Linked DNA regions of Homo sapiens: all the other regions are linked to region 1. The links are contacts of gene promoters, found by promoter capture Hi-C in blood cells and fetal thymus (Javierre and others, 2016). All regions are on one chromosome and are shown on one strand. The core of a region is centred on a gene start or on the middle of the fragment in contact, and the rest is flanking DNA. Distances in the headings are between cores, read along the strand shown.

Region 1 (4,087 bases), core at 834-3,333:
CAGGGCAAGGTGGTTCACACCTGTAATCCCAGCCCTTTGGGAGGCTGAGGCGGGTGGATTGCTTGAGCTCAAGAGTTCCAGATCAGCCTGGGTAGCCAGGAGTGGTGGCATGCACGCACCTTAGTCCCAGCTACTCAGGAGGCTGAGGTGAGACCATCACTTGGGCCTGGGAGGTAGAGGCTGCAGTGAGCCCTGATGGCACTGCTGCACTCCAGCCTGGCAACAAAGCAAGACCCTGTCTCCAAACAAACAAACAAACAAACAAACCCTAATCACCTATTCCCAGAAAATTTTGTATCCATCTCTACAAATAAATTAAGCACATTACATTAGAATCACCTGATTACCCACCTATCTCCACTTCCAGACTTTAAGCATCTTTATTTATGTACTTATTTATTAATACTTATTCTTTATTGGTTGAGAAAGGGCCTCACGCTTTGCCCAGGCTGGAATGCAGTGGCACCATCAGGGCTCACTGCAGCCTCCACCTCCCTTGGCTCGGGTGATCCTCCCACCTCAGCCTCCCTGATAGCTGGGACTACAGGTGTGTGCCACCACGCCCAATTAATTTTTGTATTTTTAGCAGAGAGAAGGTCTTGCTATGTTGCGCAGGCTAGTCTCAAACTCCTGGGCTCAAGCAATCTGCCTGCCTCAGCCTCCTAAAGTGTTGGGATTACAGGTGTGAGCCGTGGTGCCCGGCCAGACTTCATTAAGCATCTTAAGGTCAGGGACTGCATTTTATTCATCCTTGTTTCAGAACACCCAGCAATGCCTGGTACACAGTTGACCTTGAGTGCAGTAATGATTGTTTTGGAGAAAGAAGAGGAACACAGTAGCATACAAGGGCCTCTAATTTTGTGTCAGGCCCTATCTTCCCCCTCCACTCCTTAGGAAGTGTTATTTTGACCTTCTTCCCTGCCTTGAGGAAATTTTAACCTGCACTGTAAAATCTGAGTACGTGGTTCCTCCACACCTAGTGTCCTAATCTCAAGCTATCCCCTCAAACAGGTCAGGGAGGAATTTTTTGGAGAACTTCTCCCTAAAGAAACAATAGTTGTCATCTCAACAGCCGCACCCCAATTTGCACAATCTGTGTCTGTGTTCACATTCTGCCTCCATCCAGTACACTGTACTCCAACTAGAAAAACTTGCTCCTCATGCTCAGCACGGGCGTCCATACTATCCTCCTCAGCCTTTTTTCAATGTGATCATTCTCTTGCCTAAGAACCAGCCCCCTACCCTGTTTCTATCTCCAGCTTAGTTGTTCCTCATTTATTTATTTATTTATTTATTTATTTATTTATTTATTTGAGACGAACTGTCGCTCTGTCGCCCAGGCTGGAATGCAGTGGCGCGATTTCGGCTCACTGCAACCTCTGCCTCCCGGGTTCAAACAATTCTCCTGCGTCATCCTCTCGAGTAGCTGGGACTGCAGGCGTGCGCCACCACACCCAGCTAATTTTTGTATTTTTAGTAGCGACGCGGTTTCACCGTATTGGTCAGGCTGATCTCCTAACCTCAGGCGATCCACCCGCCTCGGCCTCCCAAAGTGCTAGGATTACAGGCGTGAGCCACCGCGCCCGGCCTGTTTCTCTCTTTCAAGCCCGGCTCGGGTGTCCTGCCTGCTTTCTGCACTCTATCCCTACCAGTTCCAGGCTTAGAGCCTACCTGGAGCAAGAAACGCAGTGTACATGGCGGCTTCGCATGCATACTCAGAGAACCTAAACGTGTTTTCGATATGGTAGGTCCTCTCGCTGAGTGGAACCCACATCATTTTCTACCCTGCGGTGGCAGTTGCTTTGCAGTGCTCAGCGTGATGGGAACTGGCTTTCCGGAGCGAGTGAGTGTGGGCCCACCACTGAGGACCTGGTTCAGTGAGGCCGAGGTTTCGGGCAGGGGTTGGAGCTCGGAAGCTGGCCTCGAGCGAGCGCTGCCTGAGGGTAGGCCCCGGGCCCGCCCCTCCGAGCCGGCCTGCTCCAGCTGACAGTGGTGGGCTGAGGGGCGGGCCTCAGGGCTGGCCAGGGGCGGCCTGAGGTGGCTCAGGGCTGGGGCCGGATGCGAGGCATGCCGGGAGCCCGCACTTCCTCCTCGGGGGCCTCAGAAAACCACAGGGCGCGGGGCCAGGGCGGCGGCCCCCAGGGAGTTGGCAGGATGGCAGAGGGCAAGGCAGGCGGCGCGGCCGGCCTCTTCGCCAAGCAGGTGCAGAAGAAGTTTAGCAGGGCCCAGGAGAAGGTAGGTGGCCGGGCCTCGCTGTCTGTCTGGCCCACAGGGAGCCGAGGCCGAGGCCGAGCCCGGCCGGGCAGGAGGGGCGGGCAGGGTGCTCAGGGGCCCCGAAGGGTCTGGGCTGACGAGAAGGGTCTCCCGCTCTCCCAGGGAAACGGGAGCGAGGAGTGGGCTTCCATGAAAACTGGCAGATTGGAGAGAGGTCGGAGACCGCCACCCGATCTTGGGCAAGGATAAGGGAAGCTGGGGAGACAACAGTCTCTGGGCAGAACCTTCGACAACCCTCAGGCTGACCCAGAAAAGGTGAAAGAAAGGAAGTGATGGTGGTGGCCACCTTTGTATCAAATTTTGTGCTAGCAATCCAAAATTGGTATTTTACAGATGATGAAATTGGAGGGTAATTTTCCATAGAGGGCAATTTCCCCAAAAACAGCGATGCAGCGGATGCCAGCAGGCACCCCCCACCAAAGGCTTAGAATAATCCTGCATAGTTCTCCCCCTACCTGACCCTGCCTGGCCTCTGGGTGGTGTTTCAGCTGACGTAAGCAGGAGCCCAAATCTGCTTCTTCTACCCTCCCTTTGGCGTTGGGGAGTACACCTCCCAGGGTGATGAACCACATCTGTGTTCAGAGTGTGTCCTTGGTTAGTGTCAGGTAGCCCTGCTCCAGCACTGGCACTTAGGTGGGCTGCCCATCTATTACTTGCTTGGCAATCTAAATTGTGGGGACATTCTCTACACATTTTGATGGCATTTTTGTTTCTACCTGTACAGAATATTTTCTTTGCTTCTAACCTGAGCCTCTGCTCTCCACCTACCAACCCTCTAGTAGACAAGGCGGTTTGGGAAGACATGTCAGCCAGAAGAAAGAGCGAGGGAAGAAAGACAAGAAGGACCTGAGATAGAGTTTCGGTTTTCCTTTTTTTCTCTCTCTCTTTATTAAGCCCAACCTGCCTTCTACAACGGAGAAGTTTTGGTTTTCTAAGAGCTGATGGACTTAGAAGCATTTGGATGAACAGCTCTGCTTACCAACTGAAATATCCCTATTATCTTCTAAAAGTGGAGCACTGCTTTGAGCCCTGGGAAGGCTTAAAGGCAACCAGCTCTCCCGAGTTGATTTATCAGCAGAAAACTGATGGAATGTAGATGTAGCTCCTGACTTTAAGAGACCACAATGGAAGGGAGGTTATTTTCTATCATTTGAGGTCATGTGAAAGAGAGGAGGAAAAGGGAAAGAGTTCGTGTAGCCAGACTTCGTTACTTCACTTACCCTAACTTCACCTTGATCCTAGTTTCAGCCTCTCTGAAGACTTACAAATCTGGTAGACCCGAGAGCAGGGCCTATGGGAAGGTCTAGCTCGAAACAGTGTGGGCGAGCAGGAGGTACTGGAGAGAAGGCCACACTGTGGTTGAAAAAAAAAAAAACCCTAAAAGACAAAACACTCATGAATGATAGTAATTTTAAAAAGACATACCAGCCAGGCACAGTGGCTCACTCCTGTAATCCCAGCACTTTGGGAGGCCAAGGTGGGAGGACTGCTTGAGCCCAGGAGATCAAGACTGCAGTGAGCAGTGATCACACCACACCACACTCAAGCAGAGGGAGACTCTGTCTCAAAAAATAAAAATAAATACATAAAAATAAAAGACATACAATTGATTGTATTTCACTCTTGCATCTTCTGTCTTCATCTAGCCTCTCGTCAACACTAAAACCTTGCTTTGGGCTTTCACTCCTTTGTAAGCATAGACTCCAAACCTTGGCTAAATAATGTCCTGCTCTGGGCTTCAGATCTTGCACCTGTAAAATGAGAGGGTTGATGTTCTTGATGAAACTCAATATGGTAAGAACACTAAATTGAA
Region 2 (3,798 bases), core at 784-3,283, 560 kb after region 1:
TGGGTCAGGGTTTCTGCACTATAGTCCCTTTGTGGTCGCCAGAAATATGTTACAGGACAGGCGTCCTGATCCAGGCCCCAACTGAGGGTTCTTGGATCTCGCGCAAGAAATAATTCAGGGCAAGTCCACAGTGCGATGTAAAAGTAACATTATGAAGAAAGTAAAGGAATAAAAAGAACGGCTACTCCATAGACAGAGCAGCCCCAAGGGCTGCTGGTTACCCCTTTTTACTGTTATTTCTCAATGATAGGCTAAACAAGGGGTGGATTAATCACGCCTCCCCTTTTTAGACCATATAGGGTAACTTCCTGACATTGCCATGGGATTTGTAAATGGCGCTGATGGGAGTGTAGCAGTGAGGATGACCAGGGGTCACTCTTGTGGCCATTTCAGTTTTGGCCGGCTTCTTTACTGCAACCTGTTTTATCAGCAAGGTCTTCATGACCTGTATTTTGTGCTGACTTGTCTCATCCTGTGACTTAGAATGCCTTAACTGTCTGGGAATGCAGCCCAGTAGGTTTCAGCCTCATTTTACCCAGCTCCTGTTTAAGATGGAGTTGTTCTAGTTCACACGCCTCTGACACCATCTCTATTTAAAAACAAACAAACAAACAAACAAAACAAAACAAAAACTGGCAAAGATAGCACACCCTATATTTAAAGTCAGAAGGGACTGCCACCTGCTGGTGATCGGGTAGGAATGGACAGATAGCTCACAGACCAAACCTAACCCTAAAAGATAACGGCAAGTATTAAAGAGCTAATACATTCGACTTTAGGGCAACAGTATTGATTCTAATTAAGACACGGAGATAACTGCATATGATAAACTCCAAGAAAAAAGAGCATTTTAGAAGAACGCATTTCTGTTAACAAAAACCTCAGGTTAAAATGCATTCTGAGACATAAATGCCTACGAACTCATCACAGGTGAGGCCAGTTTGACAAAGATGCCTGCCAGATCCACGCCGAGCTTCTGAACCCTAAAGGTTCTCAAAGACTACCAGTTGCCCAATCTCTTCAAAACACTAGCGCCACAACCAGACATTATTTCACATTGCAATCATTTCAAAGCGATTCAGCCGCCAGCTGCACGGCGTCGATCAAAGTGAGAAATGCCAGGCTTCGTTTTTTGACATACAAGATCAAAGAGAAAGTCACCCTCGGCTGGGTCGCCCATCCCAAAGGGTACAGACGCCCTTGTGTCATTCCTAGCCAGGGGTAAAGCCGCCTACTGTCCCCACTCTGTCTCCGCTGCCAGGCGCATCTCTCCAGGACTGTCTGGGGCGTGCGCAATGCCCGTGCGTCGGTTGCCCGCTAGACTGCAAGCTCCAGGAGGGTAAGGGGCGCGCCTCTTCCCTCAGGGTCGCCAGCGCCGACGCGCTTCGAGGACCCTGTCGCGGGGTTAACCAGACCCGGGCTCCGCTCGGCGGACACCGCGCCGAGGCCATATCCGCGCCGCCCTCCGCCCGGCTCCGGGCCCAACCTCGAGACCTCCCACGGAGAGCTAGCGCCTGCGACTGCAAAGGGCGGCTTCTGAGGCGAAAGCCACCCCGCGGCGGGCGGTTTCGGGCTTTACTTTTATTTGGGGGCGAGGGAAAGGAGGAGACGCACGACTGGAAGGGCGCAGCGCAGCTCTGCACCGAGGCGCGGAGGCCGGAAGCGCGGGCGGCCCCTCCCCCTGCCGCTGCGCCCCTCCCCCACCGCCACCACCGCGCGCGACCCCCACCAGGCGCGCGACCCGCGCTGCGTCCCCGCCGGCGCCACGTTCCCGCGTCCTTCCCCGCCCGGGCCACGGGGCACGTCCCTCCCCGCCCCCCACTTACCTGTGGCTGCCGCCTCGCCGCTCTCCGGGGCGGGAACTTCCACTCCCCCCTCCCAGGTAGATCCGAATTCACTACCCACTTCCCCACCCCCTCACGCAGCGGGGGACAAGCCTCCTTCTCGGGGGTCAGGCGGGGCGGGGAGAATCAGTGTCACTTAACAGCCAACTGTCCTAAGCTACCGTTTCCTCGGCAGTCAGGGCCGCTACTGGCGGCATGATCTACACAAGCCTGGGGGCGGGGGCGGGGGCGGGGGAGGGGAGGGGGGCAAAACTGAGCACTAGTGTGCGTTTGGGGTAGGCTATGGCGCTGCCTCCGCGCGGGCCGCCGTCCTGCGTCACCGCGCTGCCCACGTGACGCGCCGCCATCTTGTACGCGGTCCTGACTTGTGGCTAGGGGTTCCTCGGAACGCGTTCCTCAGGCTGCAGCGGGAGAGGGACGGTGCCTGCGGTTCCGTTTCTCCTTAGGAGCTGTACCCCACCCGCCCTACGTCCGCTTCCGGAGGCCATGAGCAGCTGGGTGCTCGCGGGGGGCGTTTTCATCGATTAGTGGCGGCGCTGTCAACTCACCTGCCAATTGACCTTGACCGACGCCGGCCCTGTCCTCTTGGAAGGAGAAATGAAGAGTGAAGGCTTTGACTTCCTCAGCTTTTTTTTTTTTTTTTTTTTTTTAGATGGAGTCTCTTTTTTTTTTCCGAGATTGAGACGGGGGTCTGTGGCCCAGGCTGTAGTGCAGTGGTTCGATCTCGACTCACTGCAGCCTCCAACCCCGGGATTCAAGCGATTCTCCAACCTCAGCCTATGGGGCAGCTGGGACCACAGGCGCGCGCTACCACGCTCGGCTTGAAGAGATGAGGACTCTATGTTGCTCAGGCTGGTCTTGAACTCCTGGGCTCAAGTGATCCTCCGCCTCGGCCTCTCAAAGTTCTGGGATTACAGGCGTGAGCCACCGTGCCCGGCCTTACTCAGATTTTTCTTAATCCCATAAAGTAACAATGAGTTGTGTCCTTTAACCCATGTGGAAGGATTTTCTACAGAAACGGATTTACAATGAGACATAACGATGTGGCCGGGCGCGGTGGCTCATGCCTGTAATCCCAGCACTTTGGGAGGCCCAGGAGGGCGGATCACCTGAGATCGGGAGTTCGAAACCAGCCTGACCAACATGGAGAAACCCCGTCTCTACTAAAAAATACAAAAGTAGCCGGGTGTGGTGGCGAATGCCTGTAATCCAAGCTACTTGGGAGGCTGAGGCAGGAGAATCGCTTGAACCCGGGAGGCGGAGGTTGCGGTGAGCCGAGATCGCACCGTTGCACTCCAGCCTGGGCAACAAGAGCAAAACTGTCTCAAAAAAAAAGAAAAAAGAAACGTAACAGAGTGTTAATAAAATGTTATGCCGTCATTTTAATGCATTACAAAAACTTCAGAATATTTTTGGGTCTACCTCTCTGGAAGGGAGTTATGCCTTATTCTTAATTTTTAAAATTTCCTTGTAAAATGCTGTTTTATGGCTTTAATGATAGTAAACGACAAAAGATAAACTTTTTTAGTATGCTCTTGACAAAAGTTCCGAAAGTTTTCTGAAATTTTACTAGTTTGAGATCCCCAATTTAGGAAACCGATTTAGTGGAGAGAGCTTTGCCTATTTTTGGCCCTTTGGGTCGGAGAATGTGATATAAAGCCGAAGATTTACTCTGCCAGACAGTCTTAAGAGGTCACTAACGTTTAGCTATTGACATTCAGCAAAAATTGTGGATTACCTATTAAATGCTAGACCAGGGGACAACTGTTATTAAGTCAGTGTTTCAGCATTACTGAAAGAAAAGTGGCCTATAAAGGTAAGGGAGAGGAAGAGTTTCTCAGATACCAGCCTTCGATGATTAACAAAGTCCAGCCTCAATCATTCTGGAATCCAGAATATTGATGGCTGGAAGGCTGGTTGTACAAGTTTATTGTTCTTTGGTGTTTGGTTTTTT
Region 3 (4,192 bases), core at 96-2,595, 820 kb after region 1:
CAATCAAGAGTTTTTGATCCACTTGAAAAATGCTAGTGAAGAGGGCCTTCCACAAGGAACTCAGTAAGAATATGCAACTCTGGAGACACAATCAAAGTACTGGTATCAAGCTTGGAGAAAATGCTGCTTTTGTCTCAGGGGCAGCCAGTGATAAAAACAGGAACTTTACACAGAACTGATCACAACTGCCCCAGAAGCCTGATCACATGCCCACAACGGAGCACTGTGTTTCTCTCATTGTTGTACAAGGAGTTCTCTAATAACAGTGGCTTGATTTATCCCATTTTTTTTTTTTAATTCTGAAAATAAATCGAACCCTCCCTGTCCCAATCCATTGTCAAAAGAAAGAATGCCAGCCAGGATTTGCAAGTAAACGGTAGCCTCCTCTCCTTCCTTCATCAAAGACTCCAAAAGGTGACCAGATGCGGAAAATTCGGCCCGAATAACAGGCACCAGGAAAAAAAAAAACTTCTTATGACAAAGGTGGTCTAAAAGCAGCACCGTGTGTCTCTCTGGGTTAATGCCATTGCTTCTTATCTTCCTAGGACCCTAAATGGCTCACCCGCTTGTGTCTCACTCCTGTCACTGGGGAGGCATCGCGCATTGTTAAAGGAAAGAGAAGAAATGATGCTGCGGATTTCCCATGTGTCTCTTTTTGAAAGGGGGAAGGGGGGGCTGGAACAAGGCGTGGAGCCCTCCACGAAAAGGGGAGAGGAAAGGAGAAAGCTGTCAGCCACCCTCCTCGCAGCCCTACCCCTCACCCCACCTGGGCCAGACGCCTGGGCAGAAGCGGGAGGGCGCAGCTTTGTCTCGGGTTTTGGGGGGCAGGAAGCGCAGAAGCAGTGTGGGCCCGGGAGGACCTTTCCACAAGCCCTTACTTAGTCCCCTCCATGGGAAAACAATGAAAGCCACAGGAAACCACTTAATGGGGTGGGAGAGGAGGGAAAACGGTCGTGGAGCGCCAGGCCAGGTTCTCTACACCCTCGTCCCCCTCGCCGCACGGCCGCCAGAGCGCGCGGCGGGGACCTGTCTCCCAAGTCGCCGCGATCCGCAGGGCCCCGGGCGCCCTCTCCCCGGCCCGGCTCCTACCCTCCGAGAGCTCCAGCTCCAGCTCCGCCAGCTGCGCCCGCACTTCAGGCGGCAGCGCCGCCACCGCGGCCGGCGACGGCTCCAGGCCTCGTTCCGCCATCCCAGCTCCGCCAGCCACACTCCGGAAGACAAGAGAGGGGGCCGAAGGAGGGACGGACAGACACGGGCCCACACCCGGCTACAGGATCCGGCTCCGGCCGCCGAGCACCACCAGCACCGCCGCCGCCGCCGCCGCCGCCATGAGCAAAGGTCACGTGAGCGCGACGGCCCCCGCCCCCCGGCCAGGAGGACGCACCGCCTCTCCAGCCCAGTCAGGCTGAAGACGCATATGCTTACGGCGCCCTCTACTGGGAAGCTACCAGAACGACGGGCCCAAGCCCACCACTCGAATTTCCCTGCGCGAAATGGGCTCATGGTATGGACTGTCGGCTTTACCACAGTAGTGTGGACACATAGCATTTACCTTTCACTCTCGAGCAAGTTTTTAGGGGTCCCAGGCCTTACTTTTTCCAATACTAGACTTAGCAATGTATGTCTATCGTGTCCTTTACTCCATTTTCCCTGATTAATACCTGCCCATTTATAAAAACCTAATCACAGGCCACCTCCTTCGCTGTGGCTCCTGGTCCTATCTGCCAGGAGCTCTGTTTCCGTTTCAGTTTTAGCTTTTAAAAAGACAGGCGCGGTGGCTCTCGCCTGTAATCCTAGCACTTTGGGAGGCTGAGGCTGGTGGATCACCTGAGGTTAAGAGTACCAGGCTAGCCGACCGGGCGCGGTGGCTCACGCCTGTAATCCCAGCACTTTGGGAGGCCGAGACGGGTGGATCACGAAGTCAGGAGATCGAGACCATCCTGGCTGACACGGTGAAACCCCGTCTCTACTAAAAGTACAAAAAATTAGCCGGGCGTGGTGGCGGGCGCCTGTAGTCCCAGCTACTCGGGAGGCTGAGGCAGGAGAATGGCGTGAACCCGGGAGGCGGAGCTTGCAGTGAGCCAAGATCACGCCACTGCACTCCAGCCTGAGCGTGAGCGCGAGACTCCGACTCAAAAAAAAAAAAAAAAGAGTACTAGGCCAGCCTGGCCAACATGGTGAAACCCCGTCTCCAATAAAAATACAAAAATTAGCCGGGCGTGGTGGCGGATGCCTGTACTCCTAGCTACTCAAGAGGCTGAGGCAGGAGAATCACTTGAACCCAGGAGGCAGAGGTTACAGTAAGCTGAGATCGCGTCATTGCACTCCAGCCCGGGCAAGAGAGCAAACACTCCGTCTAAAGAAAAGAAAAAGACAATAGAGAGCAGGTCCACTTCTTTCTTTCTATACTTCTAACTACTTACAAGGAGGGAACTTACTTTAACTCATCCTCCTCACTCTGTGGCCTAATAGGTGTTCCAAAAACATTAATTTTAATTTAATATGAAGAGGGTCCAAGGCTAGGTGCAGTGGCTCACACCTATGATCCCAGCACTTTGGGAGGCCAAGGTGGGCGGATCACCTGAGGTCAAGAGTTCGAGACCAGCCTGGCCAACATGGCGAAACCCCGTCTCTACTAAAAACACAAAAATTAGCCGGGAGTAGTGGCACATGCCTGTAATCCCAGCTACCTGGGGGAGCTGAGGTAGGAACGTCGCTTGAACCCGGGAGGCCAAGGTTACAGTGAGCTGAGAACATGGCGGCTGCGCTCCAGCCTGGGCAACGCAGTGAAACTGTTTCAAAAAAAAAAAAAAAAGTCAAGGCCGGGCGTGGTCGCTCACATCTGTAATCCCAGCACTTTGGGAGGCCGAGGCAGGCAGATCACCTGAGGTCAGGAGTTGGAGATCAGCCTGACCAGTATGGTGAAACCCCGCGTCTACTAAAAATACAAAAATTAGCTGGGCATGGTGGCATGTGCCTGTAATCCCAGCTACTCGGGAGGCTGAGACAGGAGAATCGCTTGAACCCGGGAAGTGGAGGTTGCGGTAAGCCCAGATTGCACCACTGCATTCCAGCCTGGGCAACAAGAGCGAAACTCCGTCTCAAAAAAAAAAAAAAAAAAAAAGGAAAAACTGGATGAAGCATACACAGGAATTATCTGTACTATCTTTGCAACTTTTCAGTAAATTTAAAACCATTCTAAAGTAAAACATTTATTTAAAATTATAGAAGCTTAGAACAAACTTGAGAGATCCTCCTACCTCAGCCTCTCAAAGTGCTGGGATTACAGGCATAAGCCACCTCATCCAGCCTTTACTGCATTCTTCCACCAAATTATTCTACCTTTTTGCTAGATTATTCCTTATATTCTCTTTATTTCTAATTGTTTATTCTTTACCTTAATCTTTTTGTCTAGATATTATTGTTGTACCAGCCTTTTTAATTACTACTTGCTGACTTTTTTTAGTCTTTTATTTTCAACTTTTGTCTGTGACTCTGGTTGTAACAAATTAATTAAATCCATTTAAGTTCATTTAATATAATTACTGATATATTAGGACTTATTTCTTCATTCTTGTTAAATGTTTTCTGTTTATCAATCTCTGTCTTTGCTTTCTTCCCCCCCTTTTTCTCCTATTGTTGAATTAGTAAAGTGTTAGATAGTACTTCTTTGTTCTTCTGGTTTGGAAGGTACAGATTATACTGCTATTCTTTCTGTGACTATTTTAAAAGTTTAACATTAAATTTTTCTCCGAGGCCAGGTGTGGTGGCTCATGCTTTTGGAGAAAAACTTTTAAAAATTAACAAACAAAAATATACTATGTTTATACTGTGTCACCGTTTTTTTTTTTTTTAGACAGAGTCTCGCTCTGTCACCCAGGCTAGAGTGCAGTGGCGCAATTTCAGCTTACTACAACCTCTGCCTCCCGGGTTCAAGCGGTTTTCCTGCCTCAGCCTCCCAAGTAGCTGTGATTACAGGCACCGGCCACCATGCCCGGCTAATTTTTGTATTTTTAGTATTTTTAGTAGAAATGTGGTTTCACCATGTTGGCCAGGCTGGTCTCGAACTCCTGACCTCAAGTGATCCACTGGCCTCAGCCTCCCAAACTTCTGGGATTACAGGCGTGAGCCACCGCACCAGCACCTTTACCAGTGCTGTTTATTTCTTCGTGTGAACTCAGGCTATTGTCTA
Region 4 (3,605 bases), core at 599-3,098, 800 kb after region 1:
ACATATCACCCAACTGTAAAAGTCAAGTGTAAAAATCAGAGGGTATATAGTGAGGAAAATAAGGGAAAAACAAACAAGCAAACATTAAAAACCAAATGCCAGGAAACACATAGGCCCCTGAGGGGCAGCTCTCACCAGCTTCCACAGGGGTCCCCATCCTTCCTGGCAGAGACCCTGGGGACAGAGCCTACACTTCTTTACTCTTTAAAGCTGCCACCATCTAAAGAATTCCATTGGAATCTTCTCCCTGCAAAGTCCATTTGTTCACTGAACAAGTGTCTATTGAGTCTTCTATTCTAGGCACTAGAGAGACAGCAGGGAACAAGACAGTAAAATCTCTGCACTCAAAAAACAAACATTTTACTGAGGAAGAATCCAATCATATTAATATATGAACAAGATCATTTCAAATGTTGGTATTAATTAGAAAATTTTAAACAGGAAAAAAAGAAAGTAAAAGAGAGTGGTGAGATGAAGAATGATGGGAGGGGTTGCTAATTTAACCTTGGAGGTTCTCTAAGGAGGTTAACTTTGAACTGAGACTAAGTTGGAGCAGAACATTCTAGGAAGAAGAAAAGCAAGGAACAAGACATAGAGGTGGCCAGGCATGGTGGTTCACACCTGCAACCCCGGCACTTTGGGAGGCCAAGGTGGGAGGATGGCTTGAGCCCAGGAGTTCAAGACAAGTCTGGGCAACAGAGTGAGATCCTGTAGCTACAAAATATAAAAAAATTAGCAAGGTGTGATAGTGCAAACCTATAGTCTCAGCTACTAGGGAGGCTGAGGTGGGAGGATCTCTTGAGCCTGGGAGGTCAAGGCTGCAGTGAGCTCCATGTACACCACTGCACTCCAGCCTGGATGAGAGAGTGAGACTCTGTCTCAAAAAAAAAAAAAAAAAGGGGACCTAGAGGCAGCAACATGCATCACGGTTGAGTTCAAGGAAGAAAAGAAATGCCTATTTTGTTCAAAGTATCATCTCATGATGACCACCCTCTTTTAAATTGTGCCCAATAACCCTCTACCGGTATTCTCTGTATTTTTTTTTTTTTTTTTTGAGATGGAGTCTCGCTCTGTCGCCCAGGCTGGAGTGCAGTGGCCCGCTTTCGGCTCACTGCAAGCTCCGCCTCCCGGGTTCACGCCATTCTCCTGCCTCAGCCTTCCAAGTAGCTGGGACTACAGGCGCCCAACACCACACCCAGCTAATTTTTTTGTATTTTTAGTAGAGATGGGGTTTCACCATGTTAGCCAGGATGGTCTCAATCTCCTGACCTCGTGATCTGCCCGCCTCGGCCTCCCAAAGTGCTGGGATTACAGGTGTGAGCCACCGTGCCCAGCCTTCTCTGTCCCTCTTGATGCTTTTTCTCCATTGAAATTTTTACCAAATGGCCAGGCACAGAGGCTCACACCTGTAATCCCAACACTCTGCAGGGCACCAAGGCAAGAGGATTGCTCGAGCCCAAGAATTTGAGACTAGCCTGGGAAACATGGCAAGACCCTGTATCTACAAAAAATAAAAATTAGGCGGGCATGGTGGCACAGGCCTGGAGTCCTAGCTACTCAGCAGGCTGAGGGGGAGGATCTCTTGAGCCCAGGAAGAGGAAGCTGCAGTTGAGCCATGATCACACCACTACACTCCAACCTGTCTCAAAAAAAATAACAATAAATTTTTACCATCTAACAAGCAATACATATTACTTGTTATTCTCTGTCTACAGCTACAGATGTAAGCCCCCTAAGGGGAGGGGTGTTTGTCATGTTAATCACTGCTGTATCACCTGCACCTATGTGGCACATAGTAGGCACTCAATAAACACCAGATAAATTAAAAAAAGGAAGAGGGAAGCGGGAGGATGGAGGGAGGCAGGGAGACAGGTGGAGAGGAGAGGGAAGAATAGGGAAGGAGAGAAGGGAGGAAGGAAAAGAGAAAGAAGAGTCAGCCAATGTGGCTGAAGCACAATGGGTGAGGGGAAAAGATGAGGGGTCAGGGCGGTGTAGGTCTTGCAGGCCATGGAAACGTATCTGAATTATATTTTAAAGACAAACTGAATTCATGGAAGAGCTATAAAGCGGGGAAGTAATATGACCTAATTTGCAGTTTAAAAAGCTCTCTACCTGCTATGTGGAAAATGGGTTAGAGAGAAGAAAGCTGGGACACCACCAGGTAAGGAGCTAAAGAAGCAAGAGATGTGATGACATGGGCATGATTAACAGTGACTCGGCATGGAAAGAAGTAGATTTAGAATATATTCTCAAGGTAGTACCAAAAAGGCTCACTGATGGACTTGATACAGAGAGGTGGCCTGAAGGAGAGGAATCAAGGATGTGTTATCAATTTATGGCCTTTCAGCTCCAAATATACCCTCGCTGCTCTGTGAAAACTGAGATGGGCCCTTTAAATATTTTTCCTTTGACAGCTGCCATGATGTTAAACTTTGCCTGTCCATAGAGGGCACTGGAAAGACATTGCAGGAAGAGGCTTTTCTTTCTAGCTCCAGTGTACTCCTCCTGACAGGATAAACAGAATATCAACAAGTTCTCTATTCTGATGTCCTATGGAGTCCTAGTAAATTTATTTTAAAATATTTTATAATTTGAGGAAATTGGGAAGACAACTGAACTAAGCTAATACAACTTGTATGTTTTCACACGTAATTGTTTTCCTATATATATAAGAATTTGGGCATAGTATTCTGTCCATTCATCCTGTTTTAAAGCTAATACCATACTGCTTTGAATACAGTAACTTTAGAATCTGTTTTAATATGTGGTAAGGCCAAGTATCACCTCACTATTCCGTTTCTAAATTTTCTTGGCTATTCTATTTATTCTTCCATGTGAACACTAAGATCATTTTATCTAATTCTCCATTCCCTAAAGAATCTTCCATTGGAGTTCTAATTGGACTCCCATTAAATTTATATATATCAGTCTTCTCATTCAGGAACACAGTACAGTTGGCCCGTCCATATCTTTGGGTTCCACATCCATGGATTAAACAAACCTCTAAGTGAAAATAGGTGGAGGAAAAAAAGCCATCTGTACTGAACATGTACAGATTTTTTTTTTCCTGTCATCACTCTCTGAATTATAAAGAATAACAACTATTGACATAGTATTTTCACTGTATTAGGTACTATACAAGTATATAAGTAATCTAGAGTTGATTTAAACAAGAGGATGTGCTTACGTTACATGCAAATACCATGCCATTTTTTAGCAGACTTGAGCACCCTTGGATTTTGGTAACTGAGGGGAGTCCCGGAACCAATCCCCTACGAAGAAAGGAACAACTGTATATATTTCCATTTTTTCAGATTCTGCTTTTATATCTTTAAAGTTTTACAATTTTCTTCATACAGATCTTATGTCTTTCTTACAATATTTAAGTATTGTATAATTTTTCTCTTTTTCCCAAATATATTCCAGGAAATATTTTATAATTTTTAACACTTTTATAAATAAAATATTTTTCTCCTCACCAATGCAGTTAATTCCCATTCTTCCCCTGCCAATATCCCAGTGACATCAAATAATGCTTTTACTTACCACCTATCCACCACATTACCCTGTCCAACATCTGAGTTCTGCTGAAATCACTGGGAATG

The links. The method cuts DNA at HindIII sites, captures the fragments that hold promoters and counts their contacts. A CHiCAGO score of 5 or more calls a contact.
Region 2: the fragment with the promoter of ATF1 here is called in contact with the fragment with the promoter of BIN2 in region 1 in 2 of 17 cell types (fetal thymus and neutrophils); the score reaches 7.7 in fetal thymus.
Region 3: a contact is called between the fragment with the promoter of DIP2B here and the fragment with the promoter of BIN2 in region 1, in 1 of 17 cell types (fetal thymus). The highest score is 5.9, in fetal thymus.
Region 4: a fragment that was not itself captured here is called in contact with the fragment with the promoter of BIN2 in region 1 in 1 of 17 cell types (neutrophils); the score reaches 6.1 in neutrophils.

What each region holds. Positions count from the first base shown.
Region 1 is chr12:51,322,170-51,326,256 of GRCh38, reverse strand. BIN2 (bridging integrator 2) reads left to right here and starts at 2,083. Exons shown (of 13, transcript NM_016293.4): 1 at 2,083-2,235. The coding sequence starts at 2,155. It overlaps LOC105369767 (a long non-coding RNA gene), which reads left to right and starts at 2,249. Exons shown (of 2, transcript XR_944957.3): 1 at 2,249-2,529; 2 at 3,054-3,889. RefSeq lists a silencer at 1,848-2,337 and an enhancer at 2,368-2,557. The HindIII fragment of the contact is 11,893 bases long and covers 1-4,087 here.
Region 2 is chr12:50,762,336-50,766,133 of GRCh38, reverse strand. It overlaps ATF1 (activating transcription factor 1), which reads right to left and starts at 2,033. Exons shown (of 7, transcript NM_005171.5): 1 at 1,827-2,033. RefSeq lists enhancers at 1,170-1,269, 3,570-3,798 and silencers at 1,690-1,779, 2,000-2,079. The HindIII fragment of the contact is 10,692 bases long and covers 1-3,798 here.
Region 3 is chr12:50,502,138-50,506,329 of GRCh38, reverse strand. DIP2B (disco interacting protein 2 homolog B) reads right to left here and starts at 1,345. Exons shown (of 38, transcript NM_173602.3): 1 at 1,090-1,345. The coding sequence starts at 1,189. RefSeq lists a silencer at 933-1,042. The HindIII fragment of the contact is 3,121 bases long and covers 113-3,233 here.
Region 4 is chr12:50,522,807-50,526,411 of GRCh38, reverse strand. All of the region lies in intron 1 of DIP2B (disco interacting protein 2 homolog B), which reads right to left. Among named protein-coding and RNA genes, the nearest start is that of DIP2B, 20 kb to the right of the region's middle. The HindIII fragment of the contact is 8,359 bases long and covers 1-3,605 here.